Regions from separate parts of the Homo sapiens genome. Here regions 2, 3, 4, 5, 6 and 7 are each linked to region 1. The links are contacts of gene promoters, found by promoter capture Hi-C in blood cells and fetal thymus (Javierre and others, 2016). All regions are on one chromosome and are shown on one strand. Each heading gives the region's core, a stretch centred on a gene start or on the middle of the fragment in contact. The rest is flanking DNA. Distances are from core to core; before and after follow the strand shown.

The links. The method cuts DNA at HindIII sites, captures the fragments that hold promoters and counts their contacts. A CHiCAGO score of 5 or more calls a contact.
Region 2: a fragment that was not itself captured here is called in contact with the fragment with the promoter of CNNM4 in region 1 in 1 of 17 cell types (naive CD4 T cells); the score reaches 5.3 in naive CD4 T cells.
Region 3: a contact is called between a fragment that was not itself captured here and the fragment with the promoter of CNNM4 in region 1, in 4 of 17 cell types (non-activated CD4 T cells, erythroblasts, naive CD8 T cells and 1 more). The highest score is 7.0, in non-activated CD4 T cells.
Region 4: a contact is called between a fragment that was not itself captured here and the fragment with the promoter of CNNM4 in region 1, in 10 of 17 cell types (naive CD8 T cells, naive CD4 T cells, total CD8 T cells and 7 more). The highest score is 12.2, in naive CD8 T cells.
Region 5: a fragment that was not itself captured here is called in contact with the fragment with the promoter of CNNM4 in region 1 in 1 of 17 cell types (non-activated CD4 T cells); the score reaches 5.0 in non-activated CD4 T cells.
Region 6: a contact is called between a fragment that was not itself captured here and the fragment with the promoter of CNNM4 in region 1, in 1 of 17 cell types (non-activated CD4 T cells). The highest score is 5.0, in non-activated CD4 T cells.
Region 7: a fragment that was not itself captured here is called in contact with the fragment with the promoter of CNNM4 in region 1 in 1 of 17 cell types (total CD4 T cells); the score reaches 5.1 in total CD4 T cells.

The regions. Positions count from the first base shown.
Region 1 is chr2:96,758,164-96,762,266 of GRCh38, reverse strand. It overlaps CNNM4 (cyclin and CBS domain divalent metal cation transport mediator 4), which reads right to left and starts at 1,365. Exons shown (of 7, transcript NM_020184.4): 1 at 1-1,365. The coding sequence starts at 1,267. RefSeq lists enhancers at 140-728, 608-857, 729-1,318, 1,878-1,927 and silencers at 821-1,004, 1,128-1,547. The HindIII fragment of the contact is 3,226 bases long and covers 1-2,320 here.
Region 2 is chr2:96,359,463-96,363,635 of GRCh38, reverse strand. It overlaps NCAPH (non-SMC condensin I complex subunit H), which reads right to left. Exons shown (of 18, transcript NM_015341.5): 11 at 3,387-3,493; 12 at 2,926-3,048. Among named protein-coding and RNA genes, the nearest start is that of NCAPH, 26 kb to the right of the region's middle. The HindIII fragment of the contact is 7,104 bases long and covers 1-4,173 here.
Region 3 is chr2:96,489,301-96,493,204 of GRCh38, reverse strand. No RefSeq gene overlaps it. Among named protein-coding and RNA genes, the nearest start is that of NEURL3, 14 kb to the left of the region's middle. RefSeq lists an enhancer at 1-229. The HindIII fragment of the contact is 2,542 bases long and covers 386-2,927 here.
Region 4 is chr2:96,409,729-96,413,687 of GRCh38, reverse strand. No RefSeq gene overlaps it. Among named protein-coding and RNA genes, the nearest start is that of NCAPH, 76 kb to the right of the region's middle. The HindIII fragment of the contact is 4,622 bases long and covers 1-3,959 here.
Region 5 is chr2:96,447,288-96,451,194 of GRCh38, reverse strand. No RefSeq gene overlaps it. Among named protein-coding and RNA genes, the nearest start is that of NEURL3, 56 kb to the left of the region's middle. The HindIII fragment of the contact is 1,416 bases long and covers 1,407-2,822 here.
Region 6 is chr2:97,092,971-97,096,872 of GRCh38, reverse strand. It overlaps FAHD2B (fumarylacetoacetate hydrolase domain containing 2B), which reads left to right and starts at 1,991. Exons shown (of 9, transcript NM_001320848.2): 1 at 1,991-2,172. The HindIII fragment of the contact is 5,521 bases long and covers 1-3,902 here.
Region 7 is chr2:96,427,316-96,431,545 of GRCh38, reverse strand. No RefSeq gene overlaps it. Among named protein-coding and RNA genes, the nearest start is that of NEURL3, 76 kb to the left of the region's middle. RefSeq lists an enhancer at 2,891-4,090. The HindIII fragment of the contact is 2,155 bases long and covers 211-2,365 here.

The sequences.
Region 1 (4,103 bases), core at 116-2,615:
AGAGAATATCTACAATATTGGACTGCTCGTCTTCGAACACCGGGATGCGAGTATAGCCGCTTTCCATTATCTCCGACATGGTGTTGAAGTCCAGGATGGCATCGCTGCGGATCATGAAGCAGTCCTGGAGCTGGGTCATGATATCCTCTACAGTTTTGGTCCGTAGTTCCAGGGCACCCTGGATCATATTGAGCTCCTCTTTCACGAGGTCATTATAGGGCTCCGTCACCTTCAACATCTCCATCAGCTTCTCCCGGTTGTAAACAGTGCGAATCTCCTGGCCCAGAAAAAAGTCCAGGAGCTTGCTAATGGGAAAACTGAGGGGGAAGGTGAGTAGCATAAAGAATTTGGTGAGAAGGATGGTGTTGGCACCCACAGCCAGCCCATGTCGGGAGCACAGGGCCTGAGGTAGGATCTCCCCAAAGATGACAATGCCAATGGTGGAGGAGGCCACCGCCATGAGGCCGGACCCGATGAGGTTGTCTAGAAGGATTGTGAGGGAGGTGTTGACCAGCACGTTCCCTAGGAGCAACGAGCAGAGAAGGTAGTTGCCCTTGCGCCGGATGGGCTCAATCTTGCGGGCATAGCGCCTCTCCTTCTCGGTGCCACAGTTCTGCACGATGCGCAGCTCCATGGGGTCCAGGGCCATAAGCCCGAGGTTGAGGCCAGAAAATATGCCCGACAGCACCAGCAGCACCGTAATTAGGAGAATGTGCAGCCAGAGAGGCAGGAACCTCCCAGGCTCCTCCACCATGAAGAGCAGTGAGTCCTTGTCCGTCCACTTCAGCCAGGGCCCGTCGGGCTGGGCCCGGGTGCACAGTGCATACAGCTTCATGCTCTCGCTCCTCCGGAGGAACTTGGTGAGCACCACCAGCACGCCGGACGTGTTCCCGCGGCTCACGTTGACCAGCTGCTGGACGACCAGGTCCTTGGTGAGCTCGAGGCAGCTGGTGGACTTGTGGAGGGTCTCGGCATCGTCCACCTCGGTGAAGGAGATCAGGTTGCTGGAGATGTTGCCCAGGCTGTAGCCGTACAGCCTCAGGTTCACGGTGCTGCCCTCGGACACGAAGATGATGCCATCCGGGTTCGTCCCACACGACTTGTTGCAGCTCGCCAGCCTCATGCCCACGATCGTGCCCTGCTGGGGGCTGCCCTGGCCCCGGGCCCCCAGCGCCCACAGCAGCACCAGCAGCACCGGCGCCGCCAGGAGGAGGCGCCCGCGGGCCGGTCCGCCGACCGGGCGCCCGCCCCCGCCCACCGGCGCCATGTTGCTCTGGCTCTGCCGCCGCCGCCGCTCCCCGCGCCACGCCGCGCGGCCCCGGTCCGCACCGCAGCTCCGGCCGCTCCGCTGCCGCCGAGCCAACTGCCCGGGCCGCGAGCCTGACGTCAGGTCAGCGCCCCGCCCGCCCCGCCCCGCCTGCCCACGCCCCTCATTTGCATTGGAGGCCCCGCCCCCGGGGCTCGCTGCTTGAGCGCCCGCCCTTAAGGGGGTACAGTCGCTTAAGGTGGAGCAGCGCCGCCGCGCGAGAGCCGCCAGCGGGTACCCGCCCAGTGCTCCGCCTCCGCGCCCTTCCCCGCCTTTCTCTGCCAGTGGGGCCAGCTCTCCTTCTCCGGGACCTGGTCTCCTAGCTACGCCGTTCCTGTTCCTCGGCCTCGCACGGCCGCACGTGGGAGGCTCCTCTCCCGTCCCTCACCTGCAGCTAGGGGTGGCCCGCTCTGCAGGCAGGGCGAGAAAAGTGCTTTTCCTGATGTAGAAAAAGAAAAAGGAAACCTGAGGGCTTAGGCTGGCATTGCAGCCTGCCCCTTGGAGACTTTTCTGGCCTCCTCACTGCTGAGATTTTTGCCGACCTTGTCCTAAGGCCAGAAGTAGGTTACCCCAGCCCCAGCCCCAGCCCGACGATGCTTCCATCAACCAGTGGCTGCCTGATGTGGAAGGCAAATCTGGGGAACTAAGGTTATAGAAGGGGCAGGCTCTGGCCTAGACTTCTCTCCTGTCTCTTCCATTTAGGCATAGATATTTATTGAACACCTACTTTGTACCAGGCACTTGTTCTAGGCTCTGACAATAGAGCAGTGAACAAGCCAAAGTCGCTGCCCATTGGGGTTTACAGTCTAGAACAGAAAACAGGAGATAAACAAGTAAACACATATATTCATTAAATCCCCCCAACAACCCTCAGAGTTAGTAGAATTATTTCCATTTAGAGATGCAGAAATTGAGCCGAGACAAAAATCCTGGTGCCTCCATACTGTCATCTCCCAGCCCATTTCTCCATCTGTAAATGGGGGTAAGAATGACAGAGCATTACTTCGCTAAGCTTGCGGGATTGTGGACCTAGACATTGAACATGACAGGACAGCTCTTTAGAATATTCTTTGGCTAGGTAGTAGTTGTTGCTACCTGCCTTCCAGGACCAAACTCCTAACCCCAAATTGTGGTGATTGATCAGCTGGGCAGCTGCTTGTGGACATGAGCAGGCAGGCGCGGCAGTGGGCCTATCCCTGAAATGACTGCTTCCTGAATGGCCCTAGCCCTGTGTCAGTAGGGTGTATAAGGAAGACCACAGCTGCCCGCCCTGTGAGGGGGAAGAAGACAGACAGATAAACATCCTTACAATAATTGCACAGGTGCACAGAGAAGATCAGGTACTGGGTTGACCACCAGGTCTCACAGCAAATCTTTTGCCAGTACTGAAGACACAGAACCCACTTTACTCCCTTCCCGCACTGACACTTGTATTTATTTTCATTTTGGTGTAATGTTTGCTAATAAAAGCAGCAATCAGTACCAAACGGAAGGAGCCTAAACAGAAAGGATCACACAATGTTGTGGGAGGAGGTGTGGTAGCAGAGAGGCCCTGACTCAAGAAAGCCCTGTTAGCTGGGATTGAGGGTTCTGTAAACTAGGCCAGCCTGGAGAAGTATGTTGCTAGTAGGGGCCCCACTCATAGCGGATACTTTGCAGTGAGTGCCCAGCAGGTCAGTTTTTTCGAGGAATAGGAGCCTTGGAATGGGCACTGGCTGAGACAGAACAAAAGCAGAACCTTGACTGCCTGTTCCTTCCCTGTCTCCACCAACCAGGAAGAGCTACCTGAATTGCCTCAAAGCAAACCCAGCTCTCCTCATCTCCTAGTGAGCTGTAACACCAGCGCCCTGCTCCACCCCTACCCCCACCTCCCATACTTAGAAACTTTCCCATTCTATTATCAATCAATTGGCTATTTTTTCCCTTTTTCTTATGATTTTATTTTTTTCTCTATTATGTCTTTTTTCTGCTTAAGTACGAATTGGCTCCTTTTATTTTACCCTTTTCAGGCTGTCTACACTCAGAAGCTCTGTTCATATGCACTGAGTCTAATGACAGAAGCCAATAAAGAAAAGGAAAAATAAGTTTTTTAGATATTTAGGTTAAATGTGGGATTACCAGCTTGGGCAACATAGCAAAAACTCATTTCCACTAAAAATTTAAAAAATAAAAAGTTAGCTTGGCATGATGGTGCACACCTGTAGTCCCAGGACCTTGGGAGGCCAAGGCGGGCAGATCACCTGAGGTCAGGAGTTCAAGACCAGCCTGGCCAAGATGATGAAACCCCGTCTCTACTAAAAATACACAGTTAGCCAGGTGAGGTGATGCACGCCTGTAGTCCCAGCTACCCGGGAGGCTGAGGCAGGAGAATCACTTGAACCCGGGAGGCGGAGGTTGCAGTGAGCCGAGATCACGCCACTCACTCCAGCCTGGGTGACAGAGCGAGACTCCATCTCAAAAAATAAATAAATAAATAAATAAATAAATAAATAAATAAATAAAAATAAAAAGATAAACACAGTATCACTTGTTGGAGAAGGCACACGGGGCCCAGGCCGAAGTCCAGGTTCATTTGCTGCCAGCTTGCAACCCTGGTTAGGGAGTCTGCCTTTTCTGCATCTGCCATGTCGAAATACCTCTCCCACCGTAGGGACAGCATGGAGATAGCAGTCTATTAACATGCTGAGTCAGGAAGCTTGGATGCATGTGTGGCTCTCTGTTAGCCAGGCGGTGAGAATGGCAGAAAGCAAACGTGCAAGCGAGGAGCCTCTCTCCTTTGGGGGCAGATAAAGGCATG
Region 2 (4,173 bases), core at 876-3,375, 400 kb after region 1:
CAGGTCCTTCCTTAGACCAGTGATTTCTACTTGATATATAAATCTCTGAAGTAGGAGAAATGTGACTGGAGATGTGCACAGTTTACAAGAGCACACTGAATATTTTAATATAATTCTGTGCCTCAAAAACAACTCAAATAAACCCACAATGTGCTTGTAACAAATCCAAAACTACTACTAAACAATAAATACTTGAATTAAGAAACGCCCCATTTTCTTCCACTGTTCTTCATATGACACAACTTCTAACTGCATCTTCATTTAGAATACTCTCCTCTGGGCACACTCTCAGGTGTCCCTAGCCAAATGTCCAGTGTTTAATACAGGCACTTCCAGTCACACAAATTTAAAAGTTATGCTTATACTATGCTGGAGTCTATTAAGTGTGCAACAGTATATGTCTAAAAAACAATTTACATACCTTAATTAAAAATATTTCATTGCTAAAAAATTATAATGATCATATCAGCCTTCAGTGAGTTGTAATATTTTTGCTGTTAAAGGGTCTTGCCTCAATGTTGATGGCTACTGACTGTCAGGGTGGGTGGTGGTTGCTGAAGGATGGGGTGGCTGCGACAATTTCTTAAAATAAGACAACAATGAAGTTTGCTACATCAATCAACTCTTCCTGTCACTAAAGATTTCTCTGAAGCATACAATGCTGTTTGATAGCATTTTATCCATAGCGGAGCTTCTTTCAAATTCAAAGTCAATCTTTTCAAACACTGCCACTGCTATATCAACTAAGACTATGTAACATTCTAAATCTTTTTTTTTTATCATTTCAACAATGTTCACAGCATCTTCACCAGGAGTAAATTCCATCTCAAGAAAATGTTCTTTGCTCATCCATAGGAAACAACTTCTCATCCATTCAAGTTTTATCAGGATATTGTACCAATGTAGTCACATCATCAGGCTCCATTTCTCATTCTGGTTCTCTTGCTATTTCTACCACATCTGCATACCACATCTGCAATGACTTCCTCCACTGAAGTCTTTTTGAGACAGAGTCTTGCTCTGTCACCCAGGCTGGAGTGCAGTGTACTGTAATCTCAGTTCACTGCAACCTCCACCTCTTGGGTTCCAGTGATTCTCGTGCCTCACCCTCCTGAGTAGCCAGGACTATAGGCCTGCACTACCATGTCTGGCTAATTTTTGTATTTTTAGTAGAGACGGGGTTTCGCCATGTTGCTCAGGCTGGTCTCAAACTCCTAGCCTCAAGCGATCCACCCACCTCGGCCTCCCAAAGTGCTAGGATTACAGGCGTGAGCCATCGTGACTGGCCTCCACTGAAGTCTTGAACCCCTCAAAATCATCCATAAGAGTCAGAATCAACTTCTTCCAAACTCCTGTTAATGTTGATATTTTGACCCCCTCTCATGAATCACAATTTTTTTTTTGTTTTGCTTTTCTGAGATGAGGCCTCACTTTGTCCCCCAGGCTGGAGTGCACTGGCATGATCATAGCTTACTATAGCCTCAGGCCCCCAAGTAGCTAGGACTGAAAAAAAAAGAGTATTTCTATTGAAGTAAACAATATTGATCAGAAAGAAAAACATATCTTGGTTAGTTTATAAAAACAGAATGTGAGGCCAGGTGTAACGGCTCACGCCTGTAATCCCTGTACTTTGGGAGGCTGAGGCAGGATGACTGCTTGAATCCAGGAGTTCAAAGTTACAATGAGCTCCAATTACACCACTGGACTATGGCCTGGGCAACAGAGCAAGACCCTGTCTCTAAAAAAAAATACAAAAAAACAAATAGAATGTGTAATATCAGTCAATTCAGGGAAAAAAAAAAAAAAATATATATATATATATATATATACACATATATATACATATATATGTGTATATATATATATGTATATATATATATATATATCATTAAAATCTTGTGGAAAAACAGGCAAAATAAAGAGGAAAGTATAAAGTCTTAATACACTCCATGAGAGTAGGAGAACCAGTAATGCAAGTAAGCAGAGGATGTGAATGGAATGGTTTACACGAACCACTGCTTACCCTGTCAGCAGGGACATGTGAGAAGAGCCCCAGGCAAATGAAGGAGGCAGTAATCAGGGTGCAACACCAGGTAATTCAGAAGGCTCCATGTGACAATCTCAGAAGGAGCCCCAGCAGCCTGTAGAGCCCTAGGAGACTTCCTGAGGATGTGAGCCCGTGTGTCACCTTGGGCTCGCTTCGACTTGGATCATGAGTAAGGCAACCTCACTGTATAAAGCAATTGGTGAGTAAATCCACAACTTCAATGAGAAAGCCAAGGAATCAGGTGGGCACAGTGGCTCACACCTATAATCCTGGCACTTTGGGAGGCTGAGGTGGGTGGATCGCCTGAGGTCAGGAGTTCGAGACTAGCCTGGCCAACATAGTGAAACCCTGTCCCTGTTAAAACTACAAAAAATTCACTGGGTATGGTGGCAGGCACCTGTAATCCCAGTTACTTGGGAGGCTGAGGCAGGAGAATTGCTTGAACCCAGGAGGGAGAGGTTGCAGTGAGCCAAGACTGCACCATTGCACTCCAGCCTAGGGCAACAAGAGCGAAACTCTGTCAAAAAAAAAAAAAAAAAAAAAAAAAAGGAGAAAGCAAAGGAATCAAGAAATAACTTAAAAACTGTTGAAACTTCACCAAAAAACTACACTCACTGCCCCCCTGAATTTCAGCATGGAGGCTTCAGTATCCAGCATTCTTGCCAGGTAAGGTATTTCCAAGTGTTTACTGTGTGTCCATCATATAAGCCTTTCCTTTTAGCTTTCTTTGCCTTATCTATTTGATTTCCTGGCAACACGCTTTGGCTAACACATACCACTCCTCACATTCTCCCTTTTCCTCAAAGGCACTGCCTAACTGTCATACTATCAGCCACTTGATACCTTGTGTGCTTAAAGGAACCAAGAAATAGGCTTACCCTGGTGCCTGGTTTGAGGTGAAGCTGGACCAGAGTGTCAACATTGTAGTTGAAATCTGTAGGAAGGGTGGTAGCTCTCCAATTCTGGTTCTCCAAAGTGGACTTGGTCAGAATAGTAGCAGCCTATTAATTTTTTTAAAAAAAGTGTTTTAGGCATTTTAACAGTGGGCAAAACATCTTACTTTTTTTAAAGCAGTCTGGGAAGGGTTTGGGCAGCATGAGTCTACCATCAGTCTCACAGTTCTATGTAAAAAAGTGATTTTGCTAGCATTATTCTTTTTATTCTAAATTTGATTCTTTCTGCCACTGAGTTTAGGACTATTTCTTAATAGTGCGTTTAAGGAACAAGGAAGAATGAAACCATCTGTTTGCTCTAACAGTTAAATTTATACGGAATTTTAAAAAATCACATCTGAAAGGGAAAAACGAGTAAGCACAATCCTAATAAATTCAGTACAAACCTTTGTTTTTCTAAAATATACATCAAAGTCAATATCATCTTCAAAGTCAATTTCAAAATCTTTTTTTGTACTCTTCTTTTTGTTTTCTGATTGGGAAGGAGCATCTTCTGCAGAGTGAACACAGACGTCAGCACTTCACTTCTGTGGCCTAAACTATTTACTCATTTCACAAGATCTGCTGACAGCCTTATCAAGGCTTATCAAAACCACAAGGCAGCATTGTGTCTGAGCATCACAACAGTAGGAGTGCTCAATCACACACCCTCTTTTCATCCTAAACTTATAATTTGTGTTTTGGCTAAGAAAACACATCAGAAACATATGCTTGGCCAGGTGCAGTGGCTCATGCCTGTAATCCCAACACTTTGGGAGGCTAAGGCAGGAGGATCACTTGAGGCCAGGAGTCGAGACCAGCCTAGGCAACAAAGCGGGATCCCATCACTATGGAAAATTTAAAAATTAACTGAGCATGCTGGCATGCCCTTGCAGTCCCAGCTATTCAGAAGGCTGAGGTGGGAGGACGCTTAAGCCCAGGAGGTCAAGGCTGCAGTAAGCCATGATTCACCACTGCACTTCAGCCTGGGTGACAGTGTGAGACCCTGTCTCAAAAGCAAAACAAAACATAAAACAACAGATGCTTATCCCTTTCTTTCAAAGAGACAATGCAAAACACATAAGGTCAGCACAGCCCTTTGGAGTTCTACAGAATGCCAACATGTGCAGTAGCTCCTGTGTGCCCTCTAGTGCCCGGGGGTCATGCCCACCCGTGACCACTGAGTGAAGTCAT
Region 3 (3,904 bases), core at 407-2,906, 270 kb after region 1:
CCAGAGATTAACAGCTCCCAAGGATAGCAGGAAGCTTCCACATCTGGAAGTTTCACCATTGGCTCATGCTGCCCAGCAGCACATCCCATCCCTTCATTCCACTTTACACAGGTACACCAAGTCATAGCTGCATGTCCTGCACCTGTCTGCAAGCAGGCCACTTAGGCTAACAAGGAATTTCAGATCCAAAGGTGAACTCACAGCCAAGAAAAGCCAAATATTTGAAAAAAGTGAATATCATGATGGAAAGGACTGACAGCAAAAGGAGTTCATACCTGAAAAAATAGGGTTAATAAAGCATACAAACCTGGGCTTTAGGATAACTATAATCACATATGAAAGGATATTGCATTGAAAAATCTAGATACCTTTGGAATTAGAAGCTTGACTATTAAAATTTAAAATAACTTATTTGATAGAGTGAGTAGCAGAAAGTATGTAGCTGAAAAATGTATTAATGATCTGGAATCAACCAGAATGCATTCCAAAATTAACAAGAGATGAAATATATAAAAAGAGAATAAACAGAATAGATGAAGTTCAAATAACCATCCAATGTGAATTCCAGAAGAAAAAAATAGAGAAAATGGACAAAAGAGAAACTCAAAGAAAGATTAGAGCTGGGCATGGTGGCTCATGCCTATAATCCCAGCACTTTGGGAGGCCAAGGTGGGAGGATCGCTTGTGGCCAGGAGTTCAAGACCAGCCTGGCCAACATATAAGACTCCCATCTCTACCAGAAATAAAAATAAAAGAACAATTTCTCAGAATTGAAGAAAGACATAGCTTTTCAGATTGAAAAAGCCCCCCAGTTGCCAAACAGAATAAGTGAAGAAAAGACTTTCATTTTGACACATACTGGTGACATTTCAGAGTACCAGGGATAAACAGAAAACCCAAGAAGAAAAAAAAAACACCCCAAAACAGATCACACACAAAAGTATTAGAATCACATTATCAGTAGGCTTTTTCTCAGCAATACTTGGTACAGAATGACAATAGAACAATATCTTCAAAGTTCAGGGGGATTTTCTTTAATTGAAGCATATTTACTATAATAATATGCACATATCTTTTTTTTTTCTTTTTGAGACAAGGTCTCACTCTGTCATCCAGGCTGGAGTGCAGTGGCACAATCATGGCTCACTGCAGCCTCCGCCTCCCTGGCCTCAGGTGATCCTCCCACCTCAGCCTTCAGAGTAAGCTGGGACTACAGGCACATGCTGCCACACCTGACTAATTTTTTAATATTTAGTACAGATGAGATCTTGCAATATTGCCCAGGCTGGTCTTGAACTCCTGGGCCCAAGTGATCCACTTGTGTTGGTTTCCCAAAGTACTGAGATTATAGGCATGAGCCACTGTGCCTGGCCTATGCACAGATCTTAAGTCCCCATTTTGATGAGGAAATAATTTTGAAATCTAAAATTCTGCAGACAGCGACTCTCTCATTCAAAGGTGAGCGTAAAATGAAGAAATATTCAGATATAAAAAGACTCAAAGTTTATCATTTAACAGATACTTTATAGGCAAATTATTAGAAGAATCACTTCAGAAAAAAGAAAAAACAAGAAAAATTAGTATGATTGTAACCATTAAAAGCAAAAAAAGTTGAATCTAAGTAAATGTTAATTGTAAAAAATTAATAATAATTTGAAATGAAAACCACAGATGATATCAACATGGGTGGAATGGCAAAAATAAAAAGCATGCTAAGGTTCTTTTCTTATCAAGAAGAGGGTTTTTAAAATTTTTTTAGTTTTTTTGAGACAGAGTCTTGCTCTTGTTGCCCAGGCTGGAGTGTAACATTATGATCTTGGCTCACTGCAACCTCTGCCTCCTGGGTTCAAGCAATTCTCCTGCCTCAGCCTCCCGAGTAGCTAGGATTATAGGTGCCTGCCACCATGCCTGGCTAATTTTTGTATCTTTAGTAGACAAGGTTTCACCATGTTGGCCAGGCTGGTCTTGAACTCTTGACCTCAGGTGATTTGCCCGCCTTGGCCTCCCAAAGTGCTGGGATTACAGGTGTGAGCTACCACACCTGGCTAGGAAGAAGTTATTTTTAACAATATAAATGAGAAAAAAATAAGTTTAATTTGTATGGTAAAGAACATACAAACAAAATGTAGAACTACAAATAAAATATATAAATTCCAAATCATGTGAAAATAATAGAACTTCAATTCCTGCATCCCAACAAAAGTCAGGAAATTGGATAAAAGGATTTTTAAAAATGTATATAGTCTAGCCCTGTCATCCAGGCTGGCACAATCGTAGCTCACTGCAGCCTCAAATTCCTGGGCTCCAGCTATCCTCTTGCCTCAGCCTCCCAAGCAGCTGGTACTCCAGGCATGTGCTACCATGCCTGGCTTCTTATTTTGTTTTATTTTTTATTTTTATTTGTAGAGACTGAGTCTCAATATGTTGCCTAGGCTGGTCTCAAACTCTTAACCTCAAGTGATCCTCTGACTTCAGCCTTCTGAATAGCTGGGATTGCAGGTGCAAGCCACTGCACCTGCTGAGACAACACACTTTCTGATTTTGAATTATACTACAAAGCTATAGTAATCAATACAGTATGGTACTGGCATAAAAACAGAAAAATAGATCCATAAAACAGAATAAGGATCCTAGAAATAAACCCATGCATATATGATCAACTTATCTTCAACAAAGCACCAAGAATACAGAATAGGGAAGCGACAGTCTCTTCAATCAATGGTATGGAGAAAACTGGATAGCCACATGAAAAAGGATAAAATTGGACCCTATCTTACACTATGCACAAAAGTCTACTGAAAATGGATTAGACTTAAATGTAAGACCTGAAACCGTAAAACTCCTAGAAGAATGATTTTTTGGATATGACATCTAAAGCATGAGTAACAAAAGCAAAAACAAGTGGGACTGCATCAAACTAAAAAGCTTCTGCATAGCAAAGGAAACAATCAACAAACTGAAAAGGCCACAGTAGAAAATATTTGCAATATTTTGTATACAATAAGGGGTTAATATCCAAAATATATAAGGGACTCATATGACTCAATATTAGAAAAACAAATAACCTGATTTAAAACTGGGCAAAAGACCTGAATAGACATTTCTCCAAAGAAGACATAACAATGGCCAATACGTATATTAAAAGGTGTTCAATATCACTAATCATCAAGAAAACTGCAAATAAAATCCACAATGAGATATCACCTCACACCTGTTAGAATGTCTAATGTCAGAAAGTCAAAAGATAACAAGTGGTTGTGAGGATATGAAGAAACAGGAACCCTTATATACTGCTGGTGGGGATACAGACTGCTACAGTCATTATGAAAAACAGTGCGTTTCCAATTGCATGGCTTAAAAAATAGGAACACAGTATGCAGGTTCCTCAAAAAATTAAGAATAGAACTATCATATGATCTAACAGTCTCACTTCTGAGTATGTATCTGAAGGAAATAGAAGCAGGATCTTGAAGAGATGGCTGCCCTGCTATGTTCACTCCAGCATTATTCACAATAGTCAAGATATGGAAACAACCTAAGTGTCCATTGATAGGTGAATGGATAAAGAAAATGTTATATCTATGTATTTATTTTTCAGCCTTAAAAAAAGGAAATCCCGTCATTTACAACAACATGGTTGAACCCGGAGGACATTATGCCAAATGAAATAAGCCAGACACGAAAAAGCTGAACTCATAGAAACAGAGTAGAAGGGTGGTTACTAGGAGATGGTGGTGGGGAAAATGGGGAGATGTTGATCAAAGGGCACAAACTTTCAGTTATAAGATGAGTAAGTTCTGAAGACCTAAATGTATAACATGGCCACTATAGTTAATAATAATAAGGTATTGTATACTTGAAATTTGCTAGGCTAGTGGATCTTAAATGTTCTCACCACACCTCC
Region 4 (3,959 bases), core at 779-3,278, 350 kb after region 1:
GCAGTGGAATGCCCTGCCTGGCCCCCAGCCCTGGACATTGCCCCATTCACCTGTCCCTCGCTTCTCTAAACCTCCCTGTAACTCTGTCTTCTGGACCCATGTGTCTGCTGGGTGTACAGCACCCAGCACTTGGAGCCAGTGAGTATCATATGTTAAGGAAAAATTGTTGGGCTTGGACCAATCACCCACCCCATTCCAGCCAGAGCCTGTCTCTTGTTTGTTCACCGACTACACACCCTATCCAAACCAAGCCTCTGGCTCTTGTCCTCTAAGTGGCACTGTTAAAGCGGAAACACGAGAAGGAATAAAGGAGCTTATTCTTTTTTCCTTCTTATTTATTTATTTAGAGACAGGGTCTTGCTTCATCACCCAGGCTTGAGTGCAGTTGTTACAGGAAAGGGGTCCTGATCCAGACCCCAAGAGAGGGTTCTTGGATCTCGTGCAAGAAAGAATTCAGGGCGAGTCTTCAGTGCAAAGTGAAAGCAAGTTTACTACGAAAGTAAAGGAATAAAAGAATGGCTACTCCATAGACAGGGCAGCCCCAAGGGCTCCTGGTTGCCCATTTTTATGGTTATTTCTTGATGATATGCTAGACAAGGGGTGGATTATTCATGCCTCTCCTTTTTAGATCATATCGGGTAACTTCCTGATGTTGCCATGGCATCTGTAAACTGTCATGGCACTGGCGGGAGTGTAGCAGTGAGGACGACCAGAGGTCACTCTTGTGGCTATCTTGGTTTTGGTAGGATTTAGCCAGCTTCTTTTCTGCAAACTGTTTTATCGGCAAGGTCTTCATGACCTGTATCTTGTGCTGACCGCCTATCTCATCCTGTGACTTAGAATGCCTTAACTGCCTGGGAATGCAGCCCAGTAGGGTTCTGCCTCATTTTACCCAGCTCTTAGTCAAGATGGAGTTGCTCTGGTTAACACGCCTCTGACACAGTGGTGCGATCTCAGCTCACTGCAGCCTCTGCCTCCCAGGTTCAAGCGATATTCGTGCCTCAGACTCTTGACTAGCTGGGGTTACAGGTGCATGCCACCACACCCAGCTAATTTTTGTACTTTTTAGTAGAGATGAAGTTTCAGCATGGTGCCCAGGCTTGTCTTAAACTCCTGAACTCAAGCGATCCTCCTCCCTTGGCCTCCCAAAGTGTTGGAATAAAGACGTGAACCACCGTGCCCAGCCGTGGTGTCTCTTCTTACAAGGTCACTAATCCTGCAGAACAGGGTCCCACCCTCGACCTCACCTCGTTTAACCCTTATTGCTTCCTTATAGGCCCTATCTCCCAATGTAGTCACATTGGTGGTGAGGGCATCAACATAGGAATTTGGAGGTGAAGGGGAGAAAAAAATGTATAATTTCTTTTCTCAACCCTCATAAGTTCCTAGCTGGGACACCTCTGTAACAAAAGACAGATCAATAGGAAAAAACGGTTGGGCTCAGTGGCTCACGCCTGTAATCCCAGCACTTTGGGAGGCCGAGGAGGGAGGATCACTTGAGGTCAGGAGTTCAAGACCAGTCTGGCCAACATGGTGAAACCCCATCTTTACTATAAATACAAAAATTAGCTGGGCGTGTAATCTTAGCTACTAGGGAGGCTGAGGCAGGAGAATCACTTGAACCGGGGAGGCAGAGGTTGCAGTGAGCCGAGCCGAGATTGCGCCACTGCACTCCAGCCTGGGTGACAGAGCAAGACTCCGTCTGAAAAAAAAAAAAAAAAAAAAAAAAAAAACAAAACAGGAAAAAAAGGAATATAATTTTTTTGGTGTGAATGTACAAATTTATTGACATGCATATGAACAGAAGAGACACATACAAAATATAAGACTCAAAGAAGGGGCCAGGCCACTGAAGTTTTTACATCATCCTGAGGTTATAGAGGGACACAGGTTATGGGAAAGTGTGTCTAACAAAGGCTGTCTTGTGGTGCAGATGAAAATATCCCTCAGCCGGACATTGTGGCTAATGCCTGTAATCCCAGCACTTTGGGAGACTGAGGCAGGAGAATCGCTTGAGCCCAGGAGTTTGAGACCAGCCCTAGCAACATAGCGAGATACCATCTCTGAAAATAATTTTTAAAAATTAGCTGGGCATGGTGGTGTGCACCTGTAGTCCCAGCTACTCAGGAGGCTAAGGTGGGAGGATCTATAGAGCCTGGGAGTTTGAGGCTGCAGTGAGCTCTCATTGCACTACTGCCCTCCAGCCTGAGCAACACAGCAAGACCCTGTCCCGAAAAAGAGAAAAAAAAAAAAAAAAAAAAATCCCAGGTAAACTCAGAGCTGCCCTCAGAAAGAATAGATGGTGGCCTTTGGTAAAAGATTCTCTCTGAGACCTTTAAAAGTGTCAGACTTCAGTGTTTATTTTCCTGAGTTAATCTTTCCTAGATTCAGATAAGGGAGGCATTACCCCCAAAACCGGGTTTGTTTGCCTGGTGAGTAACAAATGACTCTCCATGAGGATGCAGGTTTTGATCAATAAAAGTTTTATTACCTGGCCCAAGTAGGTAGAACCCTGGGAGTATTCTCCAAGGCAGTGTCCCCTGAGGGAAAGTGACAGGAGGGTTTCATGGGGCGATGGAGGGGGAGAGGATGTGTCTTCGCATGTGGAGGAGGGGTCCCAGAGGTGCAGACGCAGTGATCCTCATGCCAGCACATAGGTCGCATGTGATGGTGATGGAGCTGAGCTGCAGCCCTTCCTGGGGTGGAGACTTTAGCATGGTAACAAGAAAGGTCACTTGGGTTCATCTGTAAGTTGCTAGGGTCTGTTGGGAGCTGGTTTGAATCAAGTGGGTGACTGCATTCTAAACAGGGCTTGGAAGAAACAGGCTGCAGGGCAGGAGGCTGTAAAACAGGCTGATAGGCTGGGCGTGGGGGTTCAAGCCTGTAATCTAACACTTTGAGAGGCCAAGGTGGGTGGATCACCTGAGGTCAGGAGTTCAAGACCAGCCTGGTCAACATGGTGAAACCCTGTCTCTACTAAAAATACAAAAATTAGCTGGGCGTGGTAGCACGAGCCTGTAGTCCCAGCTACTCGGGAGGCTGAGGCAGGAGAAATCCTTGAACCAGGGAGGTGGAGTTCGCAGTGAACCGAGATCACACTCCAGCCTGGCACTCCAGCCTGAGTGAAAGAGCGAGACTCTGTCTCAAAAAAAACAAAAAACAAAACAAAACAAAAAAACCCAAAACAGGCTGATTGCTTAAGTTGATTAAATTCCTATAATCCTTTGAGATCCCCCAACCCCCTCACCCCTGCACCCCACTTGCTTACAGGGTCCTCAGGGAAAGCCTGGGCATTGATTTCACTAACATAGATTTTCTCTCCAGGTGCAACTCTCCCTCACGAAAGGCAGCTTTTCAAAGTCCTTCTTCTGTTTGCAGCCTCTCTGAATAGCCATCTCAAAATAAGCCAAAGAGGTATATTTTGGGGTGAAATATTCTCGTTTCCTTTGGGGGAACACAAACATTCAACCCATAACAGAGACAGTCCCTGTCAATGTCATGTGTTAACAGTCAGGAGGCAGCCCAGGGTGGAGCGGCAGGCTGGAGACCCGGGATTGCTGGGCTGAGATCCGGCTGGGGCATCCCTGAGAGCAGGAGGTGGCTGGACCGCGGGAGGTCAGTGCCTGCCTGGCGGGGAGCCCCAAGGGCACCTGTCTGGGCTAGCCAAGAGGAGAGCATCCGCCCCGGGAGGAGTGCAGGCAGGACTCCCGCTGACAGGGCCTGCTTGGTAGATGCTGGGCAAGTAATTAGAGAAGGGACGATTACCCACCACAGGCTGTTGGCTCTGGATGTAAAAGAAATTGACATGAGGCCAAAAGAGTTTTCCCAGACGAGGCTTCATTAGAGCTTATGCCTGGACATAAGGGAGGCAGCACTAGAGAGGAGAGAGAGAGAGAGAGAGAGAGAGAGAGTGATAGAGAGACAGAGAGAGAGAGTGACGGAGAGACAGAGAGTGAGAG
Region 5 (3,907 bases), core at 865-3,364, 310 kb after region 1:
TAATGGACTTGATCTTGCAGCCACATGCAGTAATGATATAACTAGCATTTACTGAGCACCAACTATGAGTTAAGCACTGAATTAACCTTGTCCTCACAACCCTATGACATGCACACCTTGTTGCAGTGAAGGGCACATAGCTAGGAAGTGGCAGATCTGGGGTTGCTAGCCATGTAACCTCCATCATGTTACTTAGCCCCTCTGAGGCTCAGTGTTCTCAGTTGAAAATAAATACATAACAGTATCTGCATCTTGAGGATATTGTGAGAGTTCATGAGTGATATAGTTTGGATATTTGTCCCTGCAGCTCTCATGTTGAAATGTGATCTCCAATGCTGGACGTGGGGCCTGGTGGGAGATGTTGGGTCATGGGGGCGGATCCCTCAAGAATGGCTTGGTGCCATCCTCTTGGTGATGAGTGGGTTCTCTATTAGTTCACGTGAGGGCTGGTGGTTTAAAGGAGCTTAGCACCTCCTTTCTCTTTTTTGCTCTCTCTCTTGCCATGTGACACTCCTGCTCCCCTTCACTTTCCACTATGAGTAAAAGCTTCCTGAAGCCACACCAGAAGCCAAGCAGATGCTGATGCCATGCTTGTACAGCCTGCAGAACCATCTGCCAAATAAACCTCTTTTCTTTACAAATCACCAAGTCTCAGGTATTCCTTTATAGCAACATAAAACAGACTAAAACAATGAGCTAATACATGTGAACACTCTAAGACCAGGCATAGAATCAAGCCAAACTAGTGGTAGCTATGGCTGGCTACTCAGTAGATTCATTTCTGAGTTTGGAACACTGACATCACTGAGACCTTGAAATTGAACTTCAAGGGGGCAGTGGCTGGAGACTAAGCAGAAGGAAGCCCTCTTGGAGGCAGTGTTTTCCAGCACAGGGGGCCTCCATGACCGATAGGACTACTCATTTGTACTTGGAATCATTTTCTAGCAAATTTAGTTGGCTTGGTTAACATCAACCAGTGGAGACTTATGCTTCCAAAATGGAATAACAGGGACTAGATTACCCTCCCTCCAGAAACAATGTAAACAAACAAACAAACAAACAAACAAAAAAGAGACAAAATATTCAAAATATTGCAGAACTGAACGGGCTCCATTTGCTCATTTGCAATGGAAAGCCCAGCACCAAAGCATCAGATTTTTTAGAGAGAAAGGTTTATCGGAAGGCAGCTGAGCAAGGAGATAGTAGATGGGCTCAAGTTGGTCTCCCCAGTTTGTGGTTTGGGGCAGCTTTCGTGGACTACAGAGGACAGGTTGGTATGCAGAAGCACTGGCAGGGCAGGTTTTGATTGGAAAGACTTCAAACAAGACTATTTATGGGAAGGCACGAGGAGAGGTCTTATCACCAGACATTCCTGGGCTCTGATGGACCGCTCGCTTTTCAAAGCTTTCCATGTTGGGGTTCCAACTATGTCCTGATCTATGGTTTCTAGGGAGTGTGGCCAGGCTTTAGTTCTGGGTGTTGAGGTTGAAGTCTCCTTTTCTGCCCGCACTCTGGCTGCATGATGTGCACTTTCTTGACTCTGTGCTTGTAAAGTAACTTGACAACCTGTTATCAACACAATAGGGCTAGCTAGAAATGTCCCTGCAGTTGGGAGACCACATAGGGCATTAGAACTGGTCCTGTGGTTACAAAAATACAGATAACAAAGGCTTGGAAGATGTTGGACATCAGACAACAAAGACAGTCATCCCTGAAAGATAAAAAATAAAAGATATGAGCCCTGTGATTGACCTGCTGACTGCCCGGAGTTTCCAGGCCTCATGCAGGAAGGAGGAAGCCAGATAGGATCCAAGGCTCCTAGAATTGAGAGGACTGAGCTGGGAATCTGAGCAGATTGGAATTCACAGGACAGAGTAGGAAGGGAGAAAGACATAGAGCTCTGGAGGTCTGAGCACTGGTCAGTGCGTGCATGTAAGAAATTTACATGTGTAATTGTAATTTCATGTATAGCTTTCTTCTCTCCAAAAGTGTTAGAAAGAACCACCAGAAAGGATTACAGGAAACAGTCCTGGGATAATATAGTCAGAAAGAGTTTCAGTTCCCACCAGCAAGAATATAAAACTTCATAATTCATGAGGGATTGGGTAAATTATTCAGAAGGTCTTTAACTGAGTGGGGCAAAATTAGACCTAGACTAAAAGCTGCTGGCCACACTTAATCAAGCATAAAAGGAAAAAAACAACTGTTTCCATGTTACTTGTGTGCATCCCAAAACACAATGGGAGAATATTTAAAGGAATGTGTTATAATATAGGGCTAGAGATTTTATTTTATTTTATTTTATTTTATTTATTTATTTATTTATTTTTTGAGACGGAGTCTGGCTGCATGCCCAGGCTGGAGTGCAGTGGTGCAGTCTCAGCTCACTGCAACCTCAGTCTCCCTGGTTCAAGCGATTCTTCTGCCTCAGCCTCCCAAGGAGCTGAGACCACAGGCATGCACCACCACGCCCAGCTAACTTTTGTATTTTTAGTAGAGACAGGGTTTCACCATTTTGGCCAGCATGGTTTCAATCTCTTGACCTCGTGATCTGCCTACCTTGGCCTCCCAAAGTGCTGGGATTACAGGCGTGAGCCACCACGCTCAACCAGGGCTAGAGATTTTAAAACATAACAATTTAAAAATAAAATAAAGGAATATGAACAAATCCAGCCACTAGCAACGTGAGATTCAAAATGTCTATCATCCAATCACAATTTATCAGGCACAAAAAGAAACAATAAAAATATGACTTCTGTCGATCTTAAATAATGAGATTTACAGAATCTAATTAAGTGCAGAGTTTATTCAAGAGCAAAGCTTGAGGATATCCACCCAGGAAAGCACCAACTCCACACAAAAGGAGTCAGTGTTTCCAAAGTGGAAGAGTTACAGTTTTGCTTAAGTGGACAGAGACAGAAAAGCTCCAGCAGGATTGCAGTTTCCATACGAGACCAGGTACAGATGCCACAGTGATTTGATTGGTGCAGATTGCTACATTCCAAGGAAGATTCTTCATTACTCCATGACGGGGAGGAGTGATTTGACGGGGTCTGATTTCTGGTGCCGTTTGGTCTTAATTACTTACAGAGGGAAAAAAAGGCAGGAGTTGCAGCTGCATACTGCCTCACTGAGGCTGTGTAGCCAAAGGCCTGCAAGGCTCAGGATAATTTAAAGTTCCAATAGCTTTAAGTTTGAATTATTTTAAGCTTGAGTTACTTAATGTTATACTCCTAATCAACAGAAAAATTGCTCAATCAAAACTAATCAAGAAATGACACAGATGATGCAACTAGTAGAAAGCAACTTTAAAAACTATAATTATCACTGTATTCCACAGGTACAAAAAGGAAGAAGGAAGACTGATCCTGTTAAGTGGAAATATGGAAGGCACAGAAAGAATGTAAACTGTACATCTATAGATGAAAATTACAAGGTCTGATATAAAAAAAATACACTATGTATGATTTTTTTCTTTTTGAGAGGGAGTCTCGCTCTGTCACCCAGGCTGGAGTGCAGTGGTGCGATCTTGGCTCACTGCAACCTCCACCTCCTGGGTTCAAGTGATTCTCCTGTCTCAGCCTCCTGAGTAGCTGGGATTACAGGCATGCACCACCACACATGGCGAAGTTTTGTATTTTTAGTAGAGATGGGGTTTCACTATGTTGGTCAGGCTGGTCTCGAACTCCTGACTTCATGATCCGCTCGCCTTGGCCTCCCAAAGTGCTGCAATTACAGGCATGACAGGCATGAGCCACCAAGCCCAGCTGAGCTTTTTTTGTTGTTTTTTTTTTTTTGCTTTTTTAGACAGAGTCTTATTCTGTCACTCAGGTTAGAGTGCAGTGGTGCAATCTTGGCTCACTGCAACCTGTGACTCCCAGGTTCAAGTTATTATCCTGCCTCAGCC
Region 6 (3,902 bases), core at 250-2,749, 330 kb before region 1:
ATTGAAATGGCTAGGTCATATGGTAGGAGTATGTTTAACTCTCTTCATACACTGCCAAATGATTTTCAATTGTAGTGATACTATTTTATAATCCCATAAGCAGTGTACAAGAATCCCAGGTCCTCCACATTCTTTCGAATACTTGGTATAATCAGTCTTCTTTGTCCATTCTAGTAGGTGTGAGACGGTGTCACACTGTGCTTGTAATTTGCATATCCTTAATTATTAATGATGTTGAGCATCTTTTCATGTCTTTCAATTTTCTATCTGTATATCTTCTTTGGTGAAGTGTCTGTTTAAATATTTTGTCCATTTAAAAAATTGAATTGTTTGATTTTATCTATTGATTTTAAGTGCTCTTTCTATATTCTGGATACAAGTCTTTTATCAAATATAGCCTCTGAAGATCTTTTCTTTCAGGCTGTAACTTAGCTTTTCAGAAAGTCTTTGGGAGCTATGGCTTAATGAAACACTTACGCCAGGTTCTCCTCAGCACATCCCCCTGATCACAGCCACCCCCATAGGCTCCATTTCTTTTTTTTTTTTTTTTTTTTTTTGAGACAGAGTCTCGCTCTGTTCCCCAGTGGTGTGATCTGGGCTCACTGCAAGCTCTGCCTCCCGGGTTCAGGCCATTCTCCTGCCTCAGCCTCCCGAATAGCTGGGACTACAGGCGCCCGCCAACACGCCCGGCTAATTTTTTGTATATTTAGTGGAGACGGCGTTTCATAATGTTGGCCGGGATGGTCTCGATCTCCTGATCTGATTCGCCCACCTTGGCCTCCCAAAGTGCTGGGATTACAGGTGTGAGCCACCGCACCCGGCCATAGGTTCCATTTCTATATCAGTGGTGACTTTCTGCAAGCTAGGCTGAAGTCCCAAGCTCCAGACCCACGTCTCCAACTGCCCACCGTTCAATGCCCTTTGGATGTCCCATGCAAATTGGAGCTCACTATCATCTCCCCAGACCCGCTGCTCCTCCAGAAGCCCTGTCTCCATGAACGGCCCTGCACCTACCGGGCTAGAGACCCAGGAGCCGGCCTTGTACCTGCTTCCTTCTCACTTCCACCTCCTGTCATCCAGAGCTGTCAGTTCTTCTTCCTGAACATCTCTGGACACTCACCTTCTCCGCCAAGCACCGCACCACCATTGTTCTCACCCGCACCACCCACCCAGATACCTTTCCTTAGACGGGTGGCCAGAGAAAAACTTCTCAAATAGAAGTCGGGCCATGGCACGCCACTGAGGACCTTCCAGCGGTCTCCTGTGCACTTAAACGAGGTCCAGACTCCTTTGTGGGACAAGTAAAGCTCTTGATGATCTGGTCCTTGAGTAATGTGGGGGCCTCTTGCCCAGAGCCCCTCACACTCTTCAAAGCCGGCAGCTGAAGAGCTGAGCAGTAGCTGTCTGTGGAGTTCAGCCACCGCTCCCCGCACGCCTGCCCTCTGCAGGGGATGGAGCACCGTTTCCCCACTTCCCCACCTGCGCCCAGCAGTGCAGGTGAAGGCCTGGCTGCGGAGAGTGGCTGGGAAACGCTGAGCTTTGGGGTCAGGAATGCCAGCTCCACTACTCACCGCCTGTGTCACCCTGGGAAAACAGCTCTGGCCCCAGGTTCTCCATAAGTAAAACAGGGTCACTCATCCCTCCCCTCCTTAACGACATATGTCAGAATCAGAAGCCACAAATCATTCTCTCCCACCCAGCACGCTGCCTTGGTCTCCTAGACCACTTTCCCCAACAATGGGAAAGGCGCCAGGCCCAGAACAAGGCCGAGACCGGATGAGGCCAGCGAAGCGCCCAGGGACAAACTTTCAGGCAGCGCCCACTCTCGGTCTCGGGCAATTGCAGGGTCCCTCCGAGAGCGACCGTCTCCAGAAAACGCGGCCGCCGCCTGCCTATGCCCTGAGCCTGAAGAGCCCCCGGCGCCGCCCGCCCCGCACTGGGCCCGCCCTCCGGGATTGGTGCCCTGCTAGGGGTGGTTGCCTGTGACGTCACAGGACGCGCCCGCTTCTCGCTGGAGTGCGCACCGAGCGGCAGTGACTTCGCCGCTGCTGTAGTTCCCCGGCTGGATGCGGTGACTGGTGCCAGTGCTCAGGCGCCCGCTGCCCTTGACCTCCCGCCCCGCGAGCCCTAACTCAGCGCAGGAGGACCGGCTGCCGCCGCCGCCGCCGCCAGGTAGACCAGGCCTGGCTGGGTTAGGCCAGAAGGGTGTCCCTGGCGCAGGTCTCCCGCGGAGGGCAGAACTAGAACCAGGTTCCCGGCCGTTTCCGACCACACGGATGGGGCGGACCCATGTGAGCCCTCACTAATTGCAGGGGACGAAGCTGGGCATATGGGGAAACTGGGGGTTTCCAGGCGAGTGGACGGTGGGATGGGATCCGACGTGCACACCCACGTTTCAGGCTACTGTTTCCACCTCACGTCGCCGCCCCTTTGCTTATGGACTCTTGCAGAGTTGGATTGAGCTCGGACTGTGTGACATAGTGGTTGTTGCAGAAGCCCCAGGGCCACTTTCTGACTAGTACCTTGGGCACCTGACGTCATCCCTTTGAGTCTCAGTGTCCTCTTCTGTAAAGTGAGGGCGCTTTACCTGAGGGGATTGCTGTAAGGTTGGAATGAACCTGCATGTGTGTGTCATGTGGGAAGGGAACAGTCAATGGGGCCTGGAGTTCTCTTGGAGAGCTGGTAACCAGCCTCGTCCCTGAGGCAATAGCCAGAGAGCGCCTGTAGTTTCCCCACGCATGGCTGTTTGCAGGGCCTCTGGAGGATCTCCTGTGGGAGGTCCCTACTTCTCACTACAATCTTTAGGGCCTTTGGAGGATTTCCTATGGAAGGTCCCCACTTCTCACCACAACATTCTGGGTTAAAATGTCCTTGGTAGGAAGATGGGGCTGAAGCTAGATTTTCTTGCTTGCATTACAGGCTTCTGAACCAAGGACTTCAATGTCACCTGGACTTGGATTCACATCCCAGCTCCCTCCCCTCCTAGCTTTAAGACTGTGTAACCTTGGGCAAATCCCTTAACCGCTTTAAGCCTTAACTGTTTCATCTGTAAAATGGGACTAACAGTACCTACCTTCCACAAGCGTCAAGAATTAAATCAGGCCGGGCGCCGTGGCTCACTCCTGTAATACCAACAATTTGGGAGGCCGAGGTGGGCGGATCACAAGGTCAGGAGATCGAGACCATCCTGGCTAACTCAGTGAAACACCGTCTCTACTAAAAATACAAAAATTAGCCGGGCGTGGCGGCATGCGCCTGTAGTCCCAGCTGCTGGGGAGGCTGAGGCAGGAGAATGGCATGAACCCGGGAGGCAGAGCTTGCAGTGAGCCAAGATTGCGCCACTGCACTCCAGCCTGGGCGACAGAGCGAGACTCCATCTCAAAAAAAAAAAAAAAAAAAAAGAATTAAATCAGACATTGTAGGTAGAGCACTTAATAGTTGGCATTCAGCGGCAGCAGTTACTGTTATGTTAGCATGTGGAGTGTCTGAGTGTGTGCACTTTGGCTCGAACAGCCTTTTGACAGTGGCACAGTTGGTGCTTGTGTAAGATAGCAGGGCAGAGAAGTCAAAACTCTGTTTTCTAGTCAAACTGGCGGGCCACAACAGTGGTGACCTAAGTCTAATGAGTCTTTAACTGAACAAGGCAGATTGAATCTCCAAGTGAGGACCAAGAGTCTGGGGCTCAGCTGCCTCAACATTTTTGGGCATAGAAGGCTGTACAATACAAACTGCCTTTGTTGGAAGAGCAAGGAACCATTCAGGGAAGGCACCATGTGGTAAGGAATAGTGGCCAGACTTGGATTCAGAACAAAACAAGAGAATAGTGTTTGTCTTTAAGTGGAGCCTTGGACTCAAAACAGGACCTGAGCTCTGTGGATAATTTCTTTTTTTTTTTTTTTTTT
Region 7 (4,230 bases), core at 39-2,538, 330 kb after region 1:
GGGCAAGTCAGGCATGGAACAGCAAGGGGTGTGTGAGTGAGAATGGGGTCCAGCCACTGCGCACAGTCAGACATGCCAGCTACTGCAACAGGATGGACAGTTCCAGGTGCCAGCATGGGGGCCAGCTCTCCGCGAGGCTACAGCTGGACCAGGTGTACTGCAGGCAACTTCCATGGTGGGCATCAGGGTACATGGTGGCACCCAGAAGCTTGGAGACACCAAGAACCATAGGGGCCCAAAGAGGGAGTCACAGCCCTGGCTCAGGGAGCTCCCAAGTCTGGGCTCCTCAAAGGGCCACAGCTCTTCTCTCCTTCTCTTTCCCCGTGATGTGGTGAGCAAGGGACATGTCTCAGGCCTGTTTGTGTTAATGCTCTTTTAGCCCCACCATTCAACAGGTCCCAAGTTCTTATCCTGTGACAAGGAAGAATGAGGTACACAGACAGGTGGAGGGTGAGCAAAACAAAGAGGAGCTTTATTGAGTGATAGAACAACTCAGTCTCCCACATGAGCAGGGGGCAGCTCCTTTCTGCAACCAGGCTGTCCCCACTAGTGTTCAGCTCCTGGCAGAGAGGGGACCCTGGAATAGGAAGTTCCTCTCTGCAGGCAGGTCATCCCATTGTCTCTGCAGCTCTCAGCAGAGAGGAGGCCCTGGAGTGGGTTGCTCCTCTCTGCAGGCAGATCATCCCGTCATCTCCCCAGCTCTCAGCAGAGAGGAGGCCCTGGAGTGGGTAGCTCCTCTCTGCAGCTGGTCATACTGATATCTGCCCAAGTTTGGCTGAGCCTGGGGATTTTATGGGCCTGCAGGGGAGGAAGTGCACAGCAGTTGGTCCATGGGTGGCCATGGGCAGGCCTGGAAAAGGCACTGTAAGTTCCCACTCCAGTCCGTGGGACTGGCAGCCTGGCCTCCAGCCTTCAGGCCCTCCCTGGACTGAAGGTGGGGCTTCATTGGGACTTGCCCCCTTCTGCCCAGGAGGCTGTCTGCCTCCTGCTGTGGTTCATGGTGCCCAGGCTGTTCATACCAAAGGCTGCCTGCAGGCCAGCGCTGCTGAGCTGGCCTCAGTCCTGCCTTGGCTTCCCTTCCATGCTCATCCGCACCCAAAATCTGGAGGGTTCTGAGGTAACAGGGGCCTGGTGTGTCAGCACTGCCCCAAGTGTGTGCACACCCAGCCAGGCTGCAACAATGCCCAGGCTCAGCCCCAACTTTGCTCCAAGATTGGAGCAGGCACTGACAGCAGGGAGAAGCCAGGCAGTGGGAGCAGGCACTTCCAAGCCTGCAAGGGCAGTGGGGGCCTTCTTGGGCCCCCAAGAGTGCAGGGATGCCTAGGTCCACAGGTGTAGTTTGGGCAGCTGCAGCTGTATCCCAGGGTCAGGGCTCTTGCTTGCTCCATGGAGTGGGAGCACAGGGATGTCTGGAACTGGAACTGTGTCTTGGGTGGCTGCAGCTGCATCCAAGGAGCTCCTGCTTCAACTCAGAAGGGGTAGGGCTCCTGCTTGTCCCCCACTTTACTGGCTTCATTGAGCATGAAGCCCCAGCCATGCCTCCCTGCTGCAGCTTGTGTGATGGCAGTGTCAACTCCAGATGGCCCACTGCTGCCATCATTAATACCTTAAGAAAATTTTGTTTCAATGTAGGGAACCAATGTTAGAACAACTATAACTTTTAAATAGCTTTTGGATTAGACAACAATTATTTTCCTTTAGTTAAGAAGTTAAGGTTTGTACTGCACATTGCTGTGTGAGTTCTGTGAAGGGGGAGCAAATGAGGAGGTGATCTACACACTGTAGAAGTTAGTCCCCCTTAGAGATTGCTTGGTTAGATTTCTTGCTAGGGTTTGTCTGAATAAGTGTGGGCTATTTTTAACCCTGGAGGTAAGACTATCTAGGTGAAGGTTATTGGTTAAAGATTTAGCTGGCATTCCTGGGAGAAATAGGGCTATTAGAGGGAAAGATGAATTCAGAAGTTGGGTAAATATTAAGCAGGCACCCATTTTGGAAAGTATATTTTTGTCCCAAAGGAGTTTGGGTTATTTAGATACTATAGGGACTGTTGGGAGAAAGGTCGTTGGTTCCTTAAGTAATATAAAGGGGTGTGAATTTTTTGGGGGAGGGAGCAGGTGCTGCTTGCCCTCATTACCTGACAGAATTTGGAGGAGAGTTGTTCAGGGAAGATTAGTACAGAGTAAGTAGCTTTTGAACTTAAAAGGGAAATTTATAATTTCACTTGCCACCTTCAGAGTTGCCCTTGGTTTTGTTGTGTTGATGGTGGTGTCTGATTTGGAAGCAGCTGGAGCAGAGAGCCCCTTCAGTTCAAGGCCACCAAGGGTTGGAATTCCATCCTGGAGGCACTTCAGCCCTCAAGGAAGCTTCATTTCCAGTGGCTGAGCTTGTGGCAGAGCCATGTAGAGCTTTTTCCCATTTATCCCATTGGGGTAGTTTGCCTTCCAGTGGCCTGGCAACTACCTGGAGAAGTTTCCTTAGAGCTATGGGGAGGGGCTGGGGCTTGTACAGCAGCCAACAGTTGAGCTTGCCTTTTGTCCCTGTATTTTTCTTTCTCCTTAGCCCTGTCCTCCTTATTCTGCTCTTGGTTACAAAAGACTGAGGAGACTAATTTGAGGATTTTCTGCAGAGGGGCCATGCTTTATTTCACAAGAAAATTAGACCTTCCTTTTTGAGGGTTTGGGGGTTGAATTTGTCCCAGTGCTTTGGAATGCAGCCTAGAAGTGAGTTTGAAGGAATAGATGGGTCCGACGGAAGGACTGGAAAATGAGCCACTCAGGGCTAACATCTCCTGGGGACATGAACCACACATTCTCTTGGGGCATCCCACTGAGGAAAAGGGTTTCACTCATGTCTGCTTAGGGACTTGGGTGCATTTTCTTTTTTTCTTTCTTTTTTTTTTTTGAGATGGAGTCTCGCCTTGTCACCCAGGCTGGAGTGCAATGGGGGGATCTCAGCTCACTGCAACCTCTACCTCCTGGGTTCAAGTGATTCTCCTGCCTCAGCCTCCCCAGTAGCTAGAGTTACAGGCATACGCCACCGCGCTCAGCTAATTTTTTGTATCTTTAGTAGAGATGGGGTTTCACCATGTTGGTCAGACTGGACTTGAACTCCTGACATCGTGATCTGCTTGCCTCGGCCTCCCAAAATGCTGAGATTACAGGTGTGAGCCACCTCGCCTGGCCTCAGGTGCACTTTCTAAAGGGGTGTCCCACCCATTAGAAAAGACCTCTTCATGCTGGTGCCTTATGCCAGATGGCCAGTCCAGGTATGCTGTTATGCTGGGTGATTAACCCAGGTATGAGGAAAAAGGGTAAAGGAACAACTTGGCTTGGTGCCAGTCCAGGAGAGGGGGTGGGTAAAGAAAGATGTACCATTCTGAGGCTGTCTGGGATCACCTGATTTAGCAACATCCAGAGCAAGATGACTGGGTGACTCCACAGGAGAATTTAGAGTGAGAAAGAGAGGATATGAGTCACCCAAAATGTGTGTGAAGTCACTCTGAATGAGCTACCGCTGCCAGTCATGTCATACATAGGGATTAGGGACCTTTGGCCAGAAAAGAGAGAAGAGGGAATTTTCCTCCATCACAGGCAAGGCAGCCAACCCTGTTCACCCTTTGGCCTTTAGGCAACACTGAGTAGCAGCCCCAGCTGGTTGCTGTTAGTTGCTAGAGGGATACTAGCAGCCGGCTGCTGGAAGACTGAAAAGAGAAAATAAACTTAGGTCCCTCACCTGATGGGTGGTGGCAGTTAGACACTTTCATATGGACACCTTTCAGTCCCACCAGAGTGTAACTTCGGCCAGAGACCTTCAGTTGTCTCCATGCTTAGACGCTGTCCACCGAGGGCCCTGGGTTGGGAAAGAGAGAGGGGAGAGGGTTTCCTGTAAGAAGAGAGAGTCTTCATATGGGCCACCCAAATGTCATGGATAGCAACTAGCTGGGGCTGGTGGTGTGGGTGGTAAAAGAATTTACCAAGACAATTGTCGGTACAGAAAGGCAAATTTTTTAGCGAAAATAGGAAAATACATTGCAAGAAAGCAACAGGCAGATCAGCAAGAGAGGAGCTGACTGCTGGGGATTTAATAGGATGGTGCTTGTGATGGAGAGGGCTGCGTGCAATACTGATAATACCAAGGTTGCAGTGAGCTAGCTTGCATTTTTCTGTCAGGCAAGGGTCTGGTGATAGCTGGGCACAGGCAGATTGTGAGTTATTTGTACAGGAGGACTGT